3 separate regions of the Homo sapiens genome follow, and all the other regions are linked to region 2. Evidence: promoter capture Hi-C in 16 types of primary human blood cells and fetal thymus (Javierre and others, 2016). All regions are on one chromosome and are shown on one strand. Each heading gives the region's core, a stretch centred on a gene start or on the middle of the fragment in contact. The rest is flanking DNA. Distances are from core to core; before and after follow the strand shown. Region 1 overlaps RNPEPL1 (arginyl aminopeptidase like 1). Region 2 holds the start of HDLBP (high density lipoprotein binding protein). Region 3 overlaps ANKMY1 (ankyrin repeat and MYND domain containing 1).

Region 1 (4,696 bases), core at 791-3,290, 740 kb after region 2:
CGCTTTCACAGGGGTTACTGCAGTCATCCTATCCCTGGGTGTGAGGGGCAGTGGCAGTCTTCTAGTTCCTAGGTCTCTGGATGGGGTGGCGCCTCCCCCAGACCTGATGTGAAGAAGGTACATGAAGCAACACATGTAGAGACGGCCCCAGACCCTAGACCAGAGTTGCCACCGCCACTGGAGGGGACTCATATGTCCTTGGGAGGGGAGGGGAGGGGCGGGGCATCCAGAACAGGAAGGAGGGTGAGTGGGACATTTGGTGACTGGGGACTGGACAGTGATGGTATCAGGGTTATTTGCCCAGCACCTCCTGCCCTCCCCACTTCCTGGCTGCCATGTGTGGAGTGGGGCTGTGACTGGGCCTGGCCAGCGGGTTGGGAGAAGAGACGTGCTGCTTCTGGGCCACGGCATGTTGGCCAGGTGTGCGTGGCACTGAGATGGTGGCGCCACATCCTTGGGGACTGTGAAGGGCAGCGACACCTATCGCCTGGGAAAATGGAAATCTCAGTTCTCCAAAACAAAACATGCCTGTCACCTTGTACCCATCTTGGGAAAGGATCACCACTGAGGCCGGGATTTGGCTTAAGCCACAGGTGAAGGCCCAGAGTGAAGGTGACACATGGCTTTCCTGTGACATCCAGAGGCTACTCAGGCCCAGGGGGTCCAGCCAAGGGGCTGGGCAGGATTCGGGGAGCCTGCTCTCGGGCTTATGTATCAGAGGAGGGGGCCACACCCAGCTCCTGACCAGCTCCAGGCCCCAAGTCCCGGCAGGCCAGCCCACCCTACACAGCCAGGAAGATGCAGAGGACAAGAGTCGCGAGAAAGAGCGCAGGAGATCAGGTTTGCAGAGTGGAAGTTTAATGGGACCATCACCGTGATACCCCATCACAGCAGTCCCAGGCTGGAGGCCCCAGGCTCTGGCCGCCTCTCCCAGCATGGTGGGCCTGGAGAGAGCACCAGCACCACCTCCCACTTTCCCTGGGGTATTGCTTTGCCCCTGTGCCTCCCACCCCAGGAAGCTACAAGAGACAGGCTGTCCTGTCCCCACACTCTCCCTGGGTCCTGGGACTCCCTGTTCTGAGGGGCTAAGGTTGCCTGGGGCCAGAGGGCCCTCCCCAGGGACAACCATCCTCTCCCTGTGTCCCCTGCCCCCCACACTGAGGGAATGTCTGTGTCCTTGTTCCTCTGCCAGGGGCCAACTGAGGCTGCCAACCCCAGGGGCGGGGTGCAGGGCTGTGCGGGGAGGGTGGCTCAGATCCCTGCAAGGAGGCGTGCTGCAGGGACAGCACAGCCTGGGCCCCCGGCAGACATTAAGGCACAGTGTGGCGGTCACCATAGGGCTGCTGGGGCCCTTGCCCCGGGGCGGCACCTGGCAGGTGCTGGCATCCGGGGCTAGGCACAGCTGTCAGTGTTGAGACAGGAGGCATGGTGTGTGCGGGCTGGCCCCAGGGCCTGCAGTGCAAGAGAGCTGGGAGTGGGGAGGCCAGGTCCACAGGTCTCTGCCAGACACAAGGAGGTCCCTCTCCCCATTCTCCCTGCCTGGGAGAGCCCAGGGGAGGGGCTTGTGGGCCTGGGCAGAGCTCATGGCCAGAGCCGAGACGCAGTCATGGCAGGCCTGGCCCACAGAAGGCACAATTGTGGTGTCTGGGAGGTCGAGGGTCAGCCCGCCAACAGGGCTAGGCAGACACATTGACGTCCCTGAGAGAGATGGCACTGCTGGGGGCCTCGTCCCCAAGCAGCAGGGCCTGTGCGTCCGAGTCTGTGTCTGCTTCAGCCTTGCCCAGCTCCGTGCTGGGCTCTGAGGCGGGCTCTGTGCTGGAGCCCAGGCCCTGGGACAGGATCTGCTGGATGGCTCTGCGCAGGTTGGGGTGCAGCCGGCCCTGCGTCTGGTAGAAGACCTCCAGCGCGAAGGACTTGAGGGCACCGGTGCAGAGGTCCTCGTACAGCGGGATGGTGTACATGCGTGACATCTGCAGGAGGGGCACTCGGTCACACTGGTGGGCTCCCCAGGCCCCTCGAGCCAGCCCACCCTGCCAGCCCGGCCAGGCGGCCCTCCTGCCCCTGGCTTCCCAGCTTCATCATTAGGGCTGTGGCCTGGACTCCGGTGGCCAGGAGGCCTACCATTAGCCTCCCACCTCCACCCTGCCCTTCCAGGCCAACCATGGAGGCCCCATCTCCAGGGAACCTGGGCTGGAGGGAGCACATACAGGGAGCAGGGCAGCCAGGGCCCACGGGCCTGAGGGCTCTGGCCTCCCTCTGAGGAGCTGGGACGTCCCCTCTGCCCAGACCAGGACGCTGAAGGCCCAGGGCCCAGCAGGCTGTGGTGGCCTGGACCCTAAACTCCTGCTCCCAGCTGGTCCCTTCCACAGTTTCTCCAAGAACTGGTGGAGTCCAGGCTGCCCTCTGGTACCTGCACCCGGTGCATGCCCCCACTCCCAACAGACCCCTACGTCTTCCCCGCCCCATTCTCCAGAATGTGCCTGGCCTGCCCCAAGGGCTCAGACTAGGGAGTCGGGTGGGACTCCCAGTCCGCACGGCTAGGCCGTTCCAGGCTGGCCCCCTGGGCAGGTGACCGCACCTGGCTCTCCAGGAAGCGCCGCACCCTGTGGAGGTCAGGATAGTAGTCGTTGCGGACCACAATCTGCAGCCAGCGGATGCGGATCTCAGCGTTCATCGAGTCCAGCAGGGAGGAGTAGCACTTGGACAGGCTCATCACCACCTCTGCAGCGCAGGGGGCAGGTCAGGGCTGGGCCGCTGTTGCACCCCAGCCCCTGGGCCGCCCCCATCAGCTGCAGGGACTCACCCTGCGGCAGCGGGGACCCATCCAGGAGCCGGTCCAGGAAGAGTGCTGTCTGGAAGGTCCTCCACTTGGAGATGTCAATGGCGCTGGCCGAGGCAGCTGCCTGGTCCAGAGGTTCTGCGGTCCACAGCTGGAAAAGGGCCTCCACGGGCCGGGTCAGGCTGGATCCCTGAGACAGGTCCGGCTCAGCCAGCGGCGGGCCTGTGGCATTGAGCCAGCGCTCGAATTCCAGCCCTAGAGGGGAGAAGTGACCCTGGGGTCCCTGCCCAGGCTAGGAAGGGGCTGCCTGAGCAATCTGCCCAGGAGACCCCAGACCCTGAGTGTGTTCCAGGCAGGTGGCCTGTTCCAGGGACGTGGGCTGTTCAGGAAGGCGGAGTCAGCTCCAGCCAGCACTGCCACTTGAAGCCACTGAAGGGGCTTCTGTGAAGGGGTACAGGGAAGCAGAGACTTGGGTTGGTGACCAAGGGACTCGCACCCACTCCACGCCTCTCCTGGGTGGAAGACAATGAAGTAGTCTAAACCCAACCTCAGTGCTGGTGGAGGCCACCTGCGCCATGAACCAGCAGGGGCGGGATGGGGGCAACAGGCTCTTAAGATGATATTCCTGCTCTTAAAGGGCAGTGCCCATTCCCTACCCACAAAAAGCTCTTGATGCACTTGCTGTACCTTCCAAAACTTGGTGTCACCATGCACAGCCCTCCCAGTGGCACCTCACCACCCTCCAGCAATTCTGGCCTCTCCCTCAATGTCTGAACCCTGCAGTGCCTTCCTGGGCCCCAAGCCCTCAGACCCTCAGGGACACCTTTACAAGTGACACATAAACAGGGCTGGCTGCTGTTCTCCAGCTCCAGGACACCCCCGTCACCCGCCCTTCCTGCACCAGGCCCTTTGCACACCTGGTTTCCATGGCCCGCTTCCTGGGAGTGCCTGACTCGGCCTGCTTAGCCTGTGCCACCGGCCCCAGGGAGGCCCCCAACCCCAGCCCTGTTCTCATAGCATACCAGCCTGGGGCCCACATGGTCCAGCAAGGGTTGGCTGAAGGACAGACAGTGAACTGACAGGGCTTTCCTCCAGGTGGAGTGGCCCCTCAGGCAGCAGAGGCCCCGCCTGCCATCATACCCACGGCTCCCTGGCTGCAGGGTTGGGGGTCAGCCTCACCTGCCCGGCAGTCCACGCTCTGCTCCTTCAGCTCCGGGAAGAAGCTCAGGAAGGAGTCCAGCAGGTCCTGGGCCACCACGCTGGTGAACTTGTACTTCTCCACATAGGCCTGTGTGGCAGAGGTGGGGCCTCAGCAGGCCTGGAAGGGTGGGGCACAGGCAGCCCCACCAGAGGCCTGCAGGGCACTGCAGGGCGTGCGCCAAGGTACGTGCTGGGCACAGGGGCAGCTAGTGGGCACTGCGGAGCCAGCACTTGGCACGCAGGCCCTGCCAAGGGAGCAAACAGGGTGGCAGAAGGGGAGGTGGCAACCCAGGCACTCCCCACAAAGAAAGGCAGACTAGGTCCCAGCCAGGCTCACAGGCCCCTGCCAGTTCCACCCCAACTGCCGCAAGAGCAGGCAGCCCTGTGAGCCGGGGAGGGGCTGGGGGCAGATGGCAGCAGGGCCGTCCCGGGCAGGGGGCTGCTCACTCGGAGAAAGTCATCAAAGCGCTGTGGGTCTCCGCAGAGCTGGGACAGGTAGTACACGAAGCAGTAGCCCTTCTCGTAGGTGAACAGGTTCATCAGGTGGCTGGGATTCACTCCTGCAAGGTGAACACCCACCTGGGCTGGCGTCCGAAACCACCAGTGTCCCGTGGAATAGGGAGGGGCAGTGGTCAGGCTCCGAGGAGCAGCAAGGGCCAAGCGCCACTGTCCCTCACATGTCCAGATGTGTACTGATGCCCTGGGCGTGCAGCGGCA
Region 2 (4,335 bases), core at 723-3,222:
GCATGTATGACTACTAACAGAACAGACAATACAAATGGCCTTACCTCACCTCTGCTGCCAAATGAGTTTTGGTGTCCCCATTCCTCCAGACAAAAAAAAAAAAAAAAATACCCACAACTTCTTCTTTTACAGCAGTTTCTGTATGCTGGTATTGGGGATAAAAAGGGGCCCTGAATTACATTTATGAATGATAGAGGGAAACCCTGGCCCCTTTCCCTAGGTCACCTTGCTAGTTTAAGAGCCAGTCAGAATGTAAATCTGATCTAATTAAAACGCTCTTGTTCTTTATTCCTGGCTGTGGCACTGGTGAGAGAAATCAAGGTGGAAGTTGAGGAAAAAAAATCAGGACAACCTTTATAGCTAATGAGATCAATGCCAAGATTATACATAACAGTACACATCATGAGTTAGGATGCTGGGTGGTGCAAAGAACCCATTAATGGGAGCTATCAAAAATCACTGAAAACAATGAGGCTCAAATCAGAAGTATCAAGAATCAGCTTTCATGACCCCTACACCATGATGTTTTTCTTTATGACGGCAGAACTATTTTGAAACATTAAATATATCGGCAGGCACTGTGATTCAAAAAGTATTTGAGAACCTACTAGGTGCTAGACACCAACCGAGGCAATGAGTATGGGTGACAACATGTGCCCTGCCCTCACAGCACCAATAGTCCACTGGACAAATACCATCTGGAACATCAGGTAAACACCTAAGCCTGTCTGGAGGAAATCTAATTTGGGCGGAATCCCACAAGCACAGACTAGGTAAGGAGAAGGCAGTTAAGGTGGGAAGTAGCCAGATTTAAGAGTTTGGGCAATGGCCAAAGGTGCAGAAGTTTGAACTACAAGAAGTTCAGTGTAGTTGGTTCGTGTGTTTCCGTGGAGAGAGGACAAGGTCTGGTGGCACTGACAAGAATTAGACCGAAAAGGTAAAAAAGCAAGCCAGGTTTGTCTGGGCCAGTAGGCCAGGTCACAGTTGGGACTCCACTGAGACCACGGAAGCCACAGGTTTGCTCCTCATCCCCGGGCCAACTCGGCGGCCTCCAACCCTATACCCTACCCCCTGCTGCCTGTCCGTGCCTCGCTGGTGCAGACCTTCGTCGCCTCTCCTCGCCGAAGGTACCCGCAGACAGGGCCTAGTCGCTCTCCCCTCGCTTATCCACGGCATCCAGCCGATGGGCTTGGAGGTTTGGGGGCTGGCCAGTCCTCCACGCCTCAGGGAGGAAATGGCACCGTTAGAAAGACAAGATGGCCACACAAGCTCTAAGTGTTTGTCGGGCCTAAACCTGTATCCTCCCTCCAAGCACCAAACCTCCCGACCTCGACCGCACTCGACGCCCCGAGGCCCAGCACCGACGACAGTGCAGAGGAATTCCCGCAGGGTCAACAAGGGGTCACCGGAATCCCCACTCCCGCGCCCGGGCCTGCCCGTGTCGGAGCCACTGTCGCCGGCACTAGGACCGCCCGGGACGGGGGAGCCCACGATAAGTGCCGAAGAGCCTGGGCTCGGCCGCCCCTCCCCCACACCGCCCCGCCGGCACCCCAGAGCCAGCCGACCACCGCCCGAGAGTATGGGACGAGCGGCGCGTCCCCCGCAGCTCCTCGGGAGGGCCGGCCCACAACTTGTGCGGGGTACACCGGCGAGACACTCACCCGCCAAACAGCCCGAGAACAGGCGCCGACCGACCGCGCCGCGGACCCGCCCAGCGCTCGCGGTCCGCTCACAGCCCGCCCCAGCCCGCCCCGCCCCGCCCAGCGCGCAGGCGGATTGCGTCACCGCGTCACCCCGCCCCTTTGCCAACTGCTTCCTGGCTCAGTGCGACCTGGCCTTCTTCCCCTCCCCCATGCGGCCGGCTTCCGAGTGCGCAAGCCCAGAGTCGTCCGCGTTGTCCGCCTCTGCGCAAGCGCCGTGCTCCTCCCACGGCAGTTGGCCATATAGAGGCTGGGGGTGGGGGGGGAGGTCAAGCGTAGCCTCTTCTCCTTTACCAAGATGGCGGCTTGTCCCTGTTTCGCCACAGTTCCTACCTTATGAGCTCGGTTTTCTTATGCTTATAAGAGTGGAACAGGTAATGAGAATCTTCGCCTTGCGGTGGGTAACTGGAGTGGGGGGAAGGCCGTTTGTTAGAAGGAGACAAGTGCCCACTGAGGAGGAGAGAGGCGGTCGCGGGAGGGCAGGTGGTGGCGGGAGTGCGGAGCGATCACGGGGAGGGGGAGCCTTCGCCTCTCCTCCTGTCCTCCAAGAAGATGGCGGCAGCACCGAGCTGGGGCGCCGAGTACGACTGGGCGGGGGACGGCGAGCGGCCGCGCGAAACTCGTCTAGCCCACCACCGCCGCCGTCTCGATGATCGGGGGGCCTCTCTGGGATTGGCTGCGCGCACGTCACGTGGGGCCGACGGGCCCTGCGCAGACCATCGAGTCGGGCGTCCCTCCCCGGGGACGTGGCCTTCCTGTGCCCGGGCTGGGGCCCGCCGCCCCGCGGGGGAGGGCGGAGCTGGCGCGGCCCCTAGCTTTCTCCTTCTGGTGTGGGGCCCGAGGTGAGACCTGGGGAGTGCTCCGCGAGCCCACGAGCAGCGACGTGGCTCGGGGACGGGAGGGTGCCGTGCCTGGCTGCGGCCTGAGCGGGATGGGCGCGGGCGGCTCCGGCCCGCGGGTTGTGCCCCGGCCCGGGGTGTCCTTTCCTCCCTCCCGCGTGGCCTGGAGGCACTGCAACTGTTCGAGACTCACGTCAAGGCTTGGCGCAAATACCCCTCGTTCAGGAAGCCTTCCTAGGTTTCCCCCGCTTAGAGGAAACACTTCCTGAGTTCCTAATGGCTGACCCGCATGGTGTTGGGAACCTGAGCCTTTCTGACACCGTGGCATGTTGCTAGGGTATTTTTGTGCGTAGCTCCTTTGAAAAGTGGTTAGGTGCTCAAGGCTAGCTGCTACATATCCTCTCCATTCGACTTAAAAAATGAGAGGGTCAGACTTGACATGGTGTTTGGACGCCATGTAAAATCGAAGGAAGTCGACTTGGGCTTTGCTTATTAAACAGTGCCTATTATGGTGAAATTAAACGGCTGAAGGAATGTGGATGAGTCGTAATCTTAAGGAACATGACGATTTGCCCCTCAGTTTTGCGTTTTATGTCCTCAGATTCATAGCTACCTATACCCTAAGCCCTCAATCAATGACTTCACATTTATTTGGTGTCTGCTTAAGGATAGTCACTTTCTTAGCAGCTAACTTCCTTAAAACCCTATTAAGATAGGTTAAGTCACAATTAGGGTTTTGTCTAAGGCTCCTGGTAGCGGCACATTGCATAATAAGCTTAATGTTCATTTAGGGAAGCAAATCTGGGATGCTGAAACACTGGATGAAACGTAGTGCTTAGGTTTATATTTTGATTTTTTGACATGTAAAAGTATCCCTAGGCTAAATTCATTAAGTACACATGATATTAGGATGCTTGGCAACAGTATTTAAAAATAGTTGAAAAGGTGTTTGGGTAAGAATTATTTCCATCATTTGGATTACCGAATCTCTGAGTCTGAAACATCAACCTATCAAGTTTTAGACTTGGGGAAAATGGAGCTGGAGCCTACTGCCTCAAGTCTCAGGGACAGCGTTTGAAACCCCATTAAATAATTCATCATGAGGATTAAACTTTCCTGTTACTGCTATTAGTTTTGCTTGGTGCCAAGCACTGTTGAAGGGACTTAGCTCATCTTATCAGGAGTCAAATTAACGTCATTCGGGTAAAAGTGCATTGAGTGTAAGGAGAGCACCTCAAAGATATAGTTGACCTATATCACGTCCCTCAGCGCCACTAGGCTTACTTGAATCCCTGTTACAGTGTCCTCTCCAGTGGGCAAAGCTAACTTCTCAGTGGCCTGGTGGGAGAATTTCTTCTTGAGTAAATACGTATTTTTCCAGGTTTTGTTGTTTTGGCCTTCCAGTTGTCTGACTTCAGCCTCATGACCTCACTTCTTCATTTCAATTCAAAAAAATATTTGCTGGAAATTGCTGTGTAGGGTTAAGGGTTCTGCAGATACAAAGGTTGAGAGGATATAGTCTTTTCGACCAGGTGCAGTGGCTCACGCTTGTAATCCCAGCACTTTGGGAGGTCGAGGCGGGTGGACACTTGAGGTCAGGAGTTCGAGACCAGCCTGACCAACATGGTGAAACCCTGTCTCTACTAAAAATACAAAAATTAGCCTGGCATGGTGGCGCGCGCCTGTAATCCCAGCTGCTCAAGAGGCTGAGGCATGAGAATCGCTTGAACCCAGGAGGCGGAGGTTGCAGTGAGCCGAGATTGTAGCACTGCACTCTAGCCTGGGCGACAGAGTGA
Region 3 (4,824 bases), core at 331-2,830, 760 kb after region 2:
GGGTGTGCAGGAGTGGCAGGATGGTTGCATGTACCAGGGGGAGTTTGGGTTGAACATGAAGCTTGGATATGGCAAATTCTCTTGGCCCACAGGCGAGGTAACTGCTTCCACACTTTCTCCGCCTCCTCCCCTAGGGCCTCTGGTGGCTGGCCTTTATCCTTCCAAGAGTGATGGGACGGGAACTTTTAGGCCCATCAACAGGAAGGGTGCTAGGCTAAAGTTTTTCCTCCTTGAGAAATGTCCAGAGAAAAGCATCTTTCCCAACTTCCAAAATCACACCCATGGTTTGCTGGGGTCCCAGGATGAGGTTTGGGAAGCTGTGACTTAAGAAGATAAGTTCTTATTCTGGGCAGACGTTTTAAAATTATGAATTGCCATAGCAACTCGTATATTTACCTTGGTGAAATTGCCTGTGTCTAGGCTTAAGCAGAAGGCAGCGAATGTTCTAAAAGACAAAATGAGAACAAGTTTTGCACCCCCAGGCTAGGTCCTGAGCCCACATTCAATGCAGCTGAAACTGAAAAGGCCTCTGTTGGCGCTTGCCATGGAAAGTCCAGGGGTAAGGTAGCCTCAGGCCTGGCTGGATCCAGGATTCTAATGATGTAACTAGGTCCTCTCTCTTTCCATCTCCACGAGGGGGTTCTAAGACTGACCTTGTTCCATCTGCCCAGCCCCTGGGGGTGGCATCAAACACCCCTGGGAAAGAGAAAGGCCCCAGCAGGACGCTGGTCTGACTTGGGGATGCATGAAGTGCATCAAGATGGGGCAGGGGTAAGGCGTCCTCTGGTTGGCCAGGCCTGGCCCAGGCACTGGGGCTGGGTCCCTTGGGGAATCCTCTCTGTAGGGAGAGGGCATCTGTTGTCAGAAGAAAGGGAAGGGACACTAAGCTGTGAAAACTGCCATGCCCTTCACGTCGGGGTCAGGTCTGGGTGGACTGTGAGCATGGATGGCTGTGCGGGCACTCCAGGCCCACCCTGTTTCTGAGAAAAAGGTGGTGCTTGGCACTCAGCATGAGGTCTCCTGGCTGGAAGCCCTTGTCATGAATGTCACATTCTTTTTTTTTTTCGAGATGGAATTTCACTCTTGTTGCCCAGGCTGGAGTGCAAATGGCACAATCTCGGCTCACTGCAACCTCTGCCTCCAGGGTTCTAGTGATTCTCCTGCCTCAGCCTCCTGAGTAGCTGGGATTACAGGCATGCACCACCACGCCCAGCTAATTTTTGTATTTTTAGTAGAGACAGGGTTTCACCATGTTGGTCAGGCTGGTCTTGAACTCCTGACCTTAGATGATCCGCCTGCCTCGGCCTCCCAAAGTGCTGGAATTACAGATGTGAGCCACCACACCCGGCCAAATGTCACATTCTTTTTCCCTCTGGGGGCCTTGGTAAAGGGGCAGGCTCTGATACACTCACTCCTGTTGTTTGTGGAGCTCACGTGTCCAACCAGTGCTGAAGAGTTATAAATCAGAGTCCTCCCCTGTGCCTACTGGGGCCTACAGCCAGCCTTCCAGGGCCAGCCTGTCACCTGTGAACCTGGCAGGGAGCTCAGCAGCATGGGGCTCCTGAGTGGGGACAGGACCCTCCAAACCTAAGATCAAGGTCACCAGGGAGAAGGCATGTCCGTGCTCTCCTGACTCAGGATGTCTAGGTAGTTTTAAGCCTCCCCACAGTCCCCCACCTGAGGAGAAGACAGAGAGGGAGCCTGGCTATCAGGCTGACTGCCTGGTAACCCCTCTGGGTGCTTCAGTTGCCGACTCTAATAGTCGCATGCCAGGCATCCCTGAGTTCTGCCACAGCCCTGGGTGGTCCCCATTCATTGCCAACCAGGCATGGTGGCTCAGCCTCAAGGGCATCCCGTCAGGTTCTGGAAGAGCAGCAATTTCTCACCAACTTCTCCATCTCACAGTCATACCATGGGCAGTTTTACCGGGACCACTGCCATGGCCTGGGTACCTACATGTGGCCAGATGGCTCCAGTTTCACGGGCACATTTTACCTCAGCCACCGAGAAGGCTACGGCACCATGTACATGAAGACACGGCTTTTCCAGGTGAGGGGGCTGCCATGTGTTCAGCTGGGGTCGAAGTGGCTGTGTGTGTCTAAGCCACTGGACAAAAAGATATTTCGGTCCTGGGGAAGTTTATTTGTTTAGCTACAAGTAGCTTTTTTACTTTTAATGATTAAAATGGTACCAATAATAAGGATATAGACTGAAAATAAAAGCCTCCTTGCATTTTATTCCCCAGAGGGATACCAGCAAATTGTTACATGTCCTTTAGATTTAAGAAACGCACGTGTTTATTTTTAAATATGTAAACTGGATCACTGTACACATAATGTTTGAAATGTGCCTTTTTAAATGGAGAACATGCCTAGTCTTTCAAATACAGATGCCTTTCCCCCTTTTATTACAGTATAATTTACAGTAAAATTCACCCATTTTAATATATAGTTCTGAAATTTTTGACAATTACAGGGTTGTGTAACTACTACTGTAGTCAGGATATACAAACAGTTCCATCACCCTCAAAATATTGCCATGGCCTTTGTAATAAATGTCTCCTTCAACAAACTGTGGCTGATCTATTTTGGCCTAGAATTTTGCCCTTGTGAGAATGCCATATTAATGGTGTCAACAGAAAAAAAACAAACTCTGCAAAATATTTTAAAGAGGTTTATTCTGAGCCAATATGAGTGGCTGTTACTGAAACACCAGGGGTTCGCTCTAGATCTTTCCGCTTCCTGCACAGAAAGCCCATCACTGAGACAATGAGTATTGCCAAGGAAGAAGGCTGTAATTTGGAGGTGCAGCTGAAGAGATGGGAGCTTAATCTCAAATCCATCCCCCTGACTAAAACTAGGGGTTTATATATCAAGGAAGAAATGTAATAATGTGTGAGAAAGCAGGAACTTGGGAGGGGTGAGGAAGCAGTCACGGTGAACAAAGGGCCTGGAGTCACATTGAATGCCATGGTCTGGTGAGTTTCAGTTCTTTGATACTTTCTGAGAGGAGTTTCAGCTCTTTGATACTTTTTGAGAGGCCTGAAGGTCTTTCCTGAGGAAGAAACTCAGATAAAACAAATTTAAGTTTCAAGCTTTAAGACCAGAAGGGTCAATTTCTATGTTTATCTGGAAACAACTCTCTGTAGGATTACTGGGCTGGTTTCAGTCCCCCCTTTTTGTTTATCAGTTCCTCAACCATGGGGAATCAGGTTGTGGGTCTTTCTGGCTGCTCCATGCTGAGGAGGGGCGTTGTGGGCAGCTCCATACCATGGGTGACCATGTGGTCACTTAGGAATCAAAGGTTAATCTAAATAGAGTTTTCTTCTAAAAGACAATCTCTTTCCATTCCCCCACTTGCATCAAAGACAAATAACAGTAGGACAACCTACTTGCAAAATAAGCTTCAGTTTCCTGGTGCCCTGATCACCCACACAAAGCACAGCAAGAACTGTGGTTCGCATAGGCTGTCCTAAACTGGCTTTGCCGGAACCTCTCGCAAGGCCATTTCAGTTAAAGCCTTGGGAAAATAACCAGTTCCCCCAGCTGTGTCCCATTATAAAATAAAACAGATTCTTATTAAACATATGCAAACAAACACGTTGCCATGAATTAAGAATATTCACAAATAGTTTAAAAATTCTGGAGAAATTAGGCAGAGAGAAATATGACTCAAATTTTGTTTACAAATGTATACTCTACTCAGTACACTTAAAGTATATTTCAAGGTTATGAATAGCTCAAAAGAAAAAAATTATCCTGACTCTGAAAGACAAAAGAAGAATCAGCAATATTTCAAAAAAAAAAAAAACATAAAAAGCATTCCAGTGTTCTGTTAGCTGAGTCCATGCAGTCAGCTCCTGCCCTGTGTCATATTGGGTGAGCAATGTTTATGAACACATCAGCCTTCCAATTAGTGCAGTGGAAGTTTTCTCTCTCATCCAGTGGCACAATCGCCAAAGTTATCAGACACCTGAATTCAATAGTCCTTTTCAGGAACTCCCCCAAAGAAGCAAGCCCTGGACGGTAGCTGATTACAAGTCACTTTTTTTGAGAAAGATCAAAGCAAAACAATTGTGGATGACAAAAGTCTTAAGGCAGCCATAGTCAAAAGATAGAGATGACAAGGAAATTTGGTTATTTCTGTGTCATACAACAATTTAACATAATAATCATTAACTATTGTTGACAACATATATTTAAACATATTAGAATTTCAAGAATGTCATAAATCCTGGAACACATATTAATAACATGTATATAAATAAAACCCAAAGAAAGTTAAATACCACCTCACAATTTACAATGCTTCCGGTATAATTCTAATATAACAAATAAGCCTAATATGTCTTTCTTGGACTTCAGGAAGCCTAATATCCAAAAAAAGTTAATTTAAGATCAAAAATTTACCTTCATCAAGAGTAAGATCTTTTTTTTTAAATTTATTATTATTATACTTTAAGTTTCAGGGTACATGTGCACAATGTGCAGGTTAGTTACATATGTATACATGTGCCATGCTGGTATGCTGCACCCACTAACTCGTCATCTAGCATTAGGTATATCTCCCAATGCTATCCCTCCCCCCTCCCCCCACCCCACAGCAGTCCCCAGAGTGTGATGTTCCCCTTCCTGTGTCCATGTGTTCTCGTTGTTCAATTCCCGCCTATGAGTGAGAATACGCGGTGTTTGGTTTTTTGTTCTTGCGATAGTTTACCGAGAATGATGATTTCCAATTTCATCCATGTCCCTACAAAGGATGTGAACTCATTTTTTATGGCTGCATAGTATTCCATGGTGTATATATGCCACATTTTCTTAATCC

Evidence for each region. The method cuts DNA at HindIII sites, captures the fragments that hold promoters and counts their contacts. A CHiCAGO score of 5 or more calls a contact.
Region 1: a contact is called between a fragment that was not itself captured here and the fragment with the promoter of HDLBP in region 2, in 1 of 17 cell types (neutrophils). The highest score is 6.5, in neutrophils.
Region 3: a contact is called between a fragment that was not itself captured here and the fragment with the promoter of HDLBP in region 2, in 1 of 17 cell types (neutrophils). The highest score is 5.0, in neutrophils.

Annotation. Positions count from the first base shown.
Region 1 is chr2:240,574,873-240,579,568 of GRCh38, reverse strand. RNPEPL1 (arginyl aminopeptidase like 1) reads right to left here. Exons shown (of 11, transcript NM_018226.6): 7 at 4,427-4,539; 8 at 3,959-4,067; 9 at 2,804-3,034; 10 at 2,579-2,721; 11 at 1-1,970. The coding sequence ends at 1,677. Among named protein-coding and RNA genes, the nearest start is that of RNPEPL1, 8.7 kb to the right of the region's middle. RefSeq lists an enhancer at 63-357. The HindIII fragment of the contact is 5,908 bases long and covers 1-4,696 here.
Region 2 is chr2:241,313,309-241,317,643 of GRCh38, reverse strand. HDLBP (high density lipoprotein binding protein) reads left to right here and starts at 1,972. Exons shown (of 28, transcript NM_005336.6): 1 at 1,972-2,074. It overlaps SEPTIN2 (septin 2), which reads right to left and starts at 1,719. Exons shown (of 13, transcript NM_004404.5): 1 at 1,662-1,719. RefSeq lists enhancers at 522-1,246, 1,197-1,256, 1,247-1,971, 1,897-1,996, 2,017-2,066 and 1 more and silencers at 1,447-1,796, 2,337-2,716. The HindIII fragment of the contact is 7,846 bases long and covers 1-3,316 here.
Region 3 is chr2:240,550,139-240,554,962 of GRCh38, reverse strand. It overlaps ANKMY1 (ankyrin repeat and MYND domain containing 1), which reads left to right. Exons shown (of 18, transcript NM_001282771.3): 3 at 1-97; 4 at 1,906-2,049. Among named protein-coding and RNA genes, the nearest start is that of ANKMY1, 5.4 kb to the left of the region's middle. RefSeq lists a silencer at 2,990-3,089. The HindIII fragment of the contact is 3,033 bases long and covers 64-3,096 here.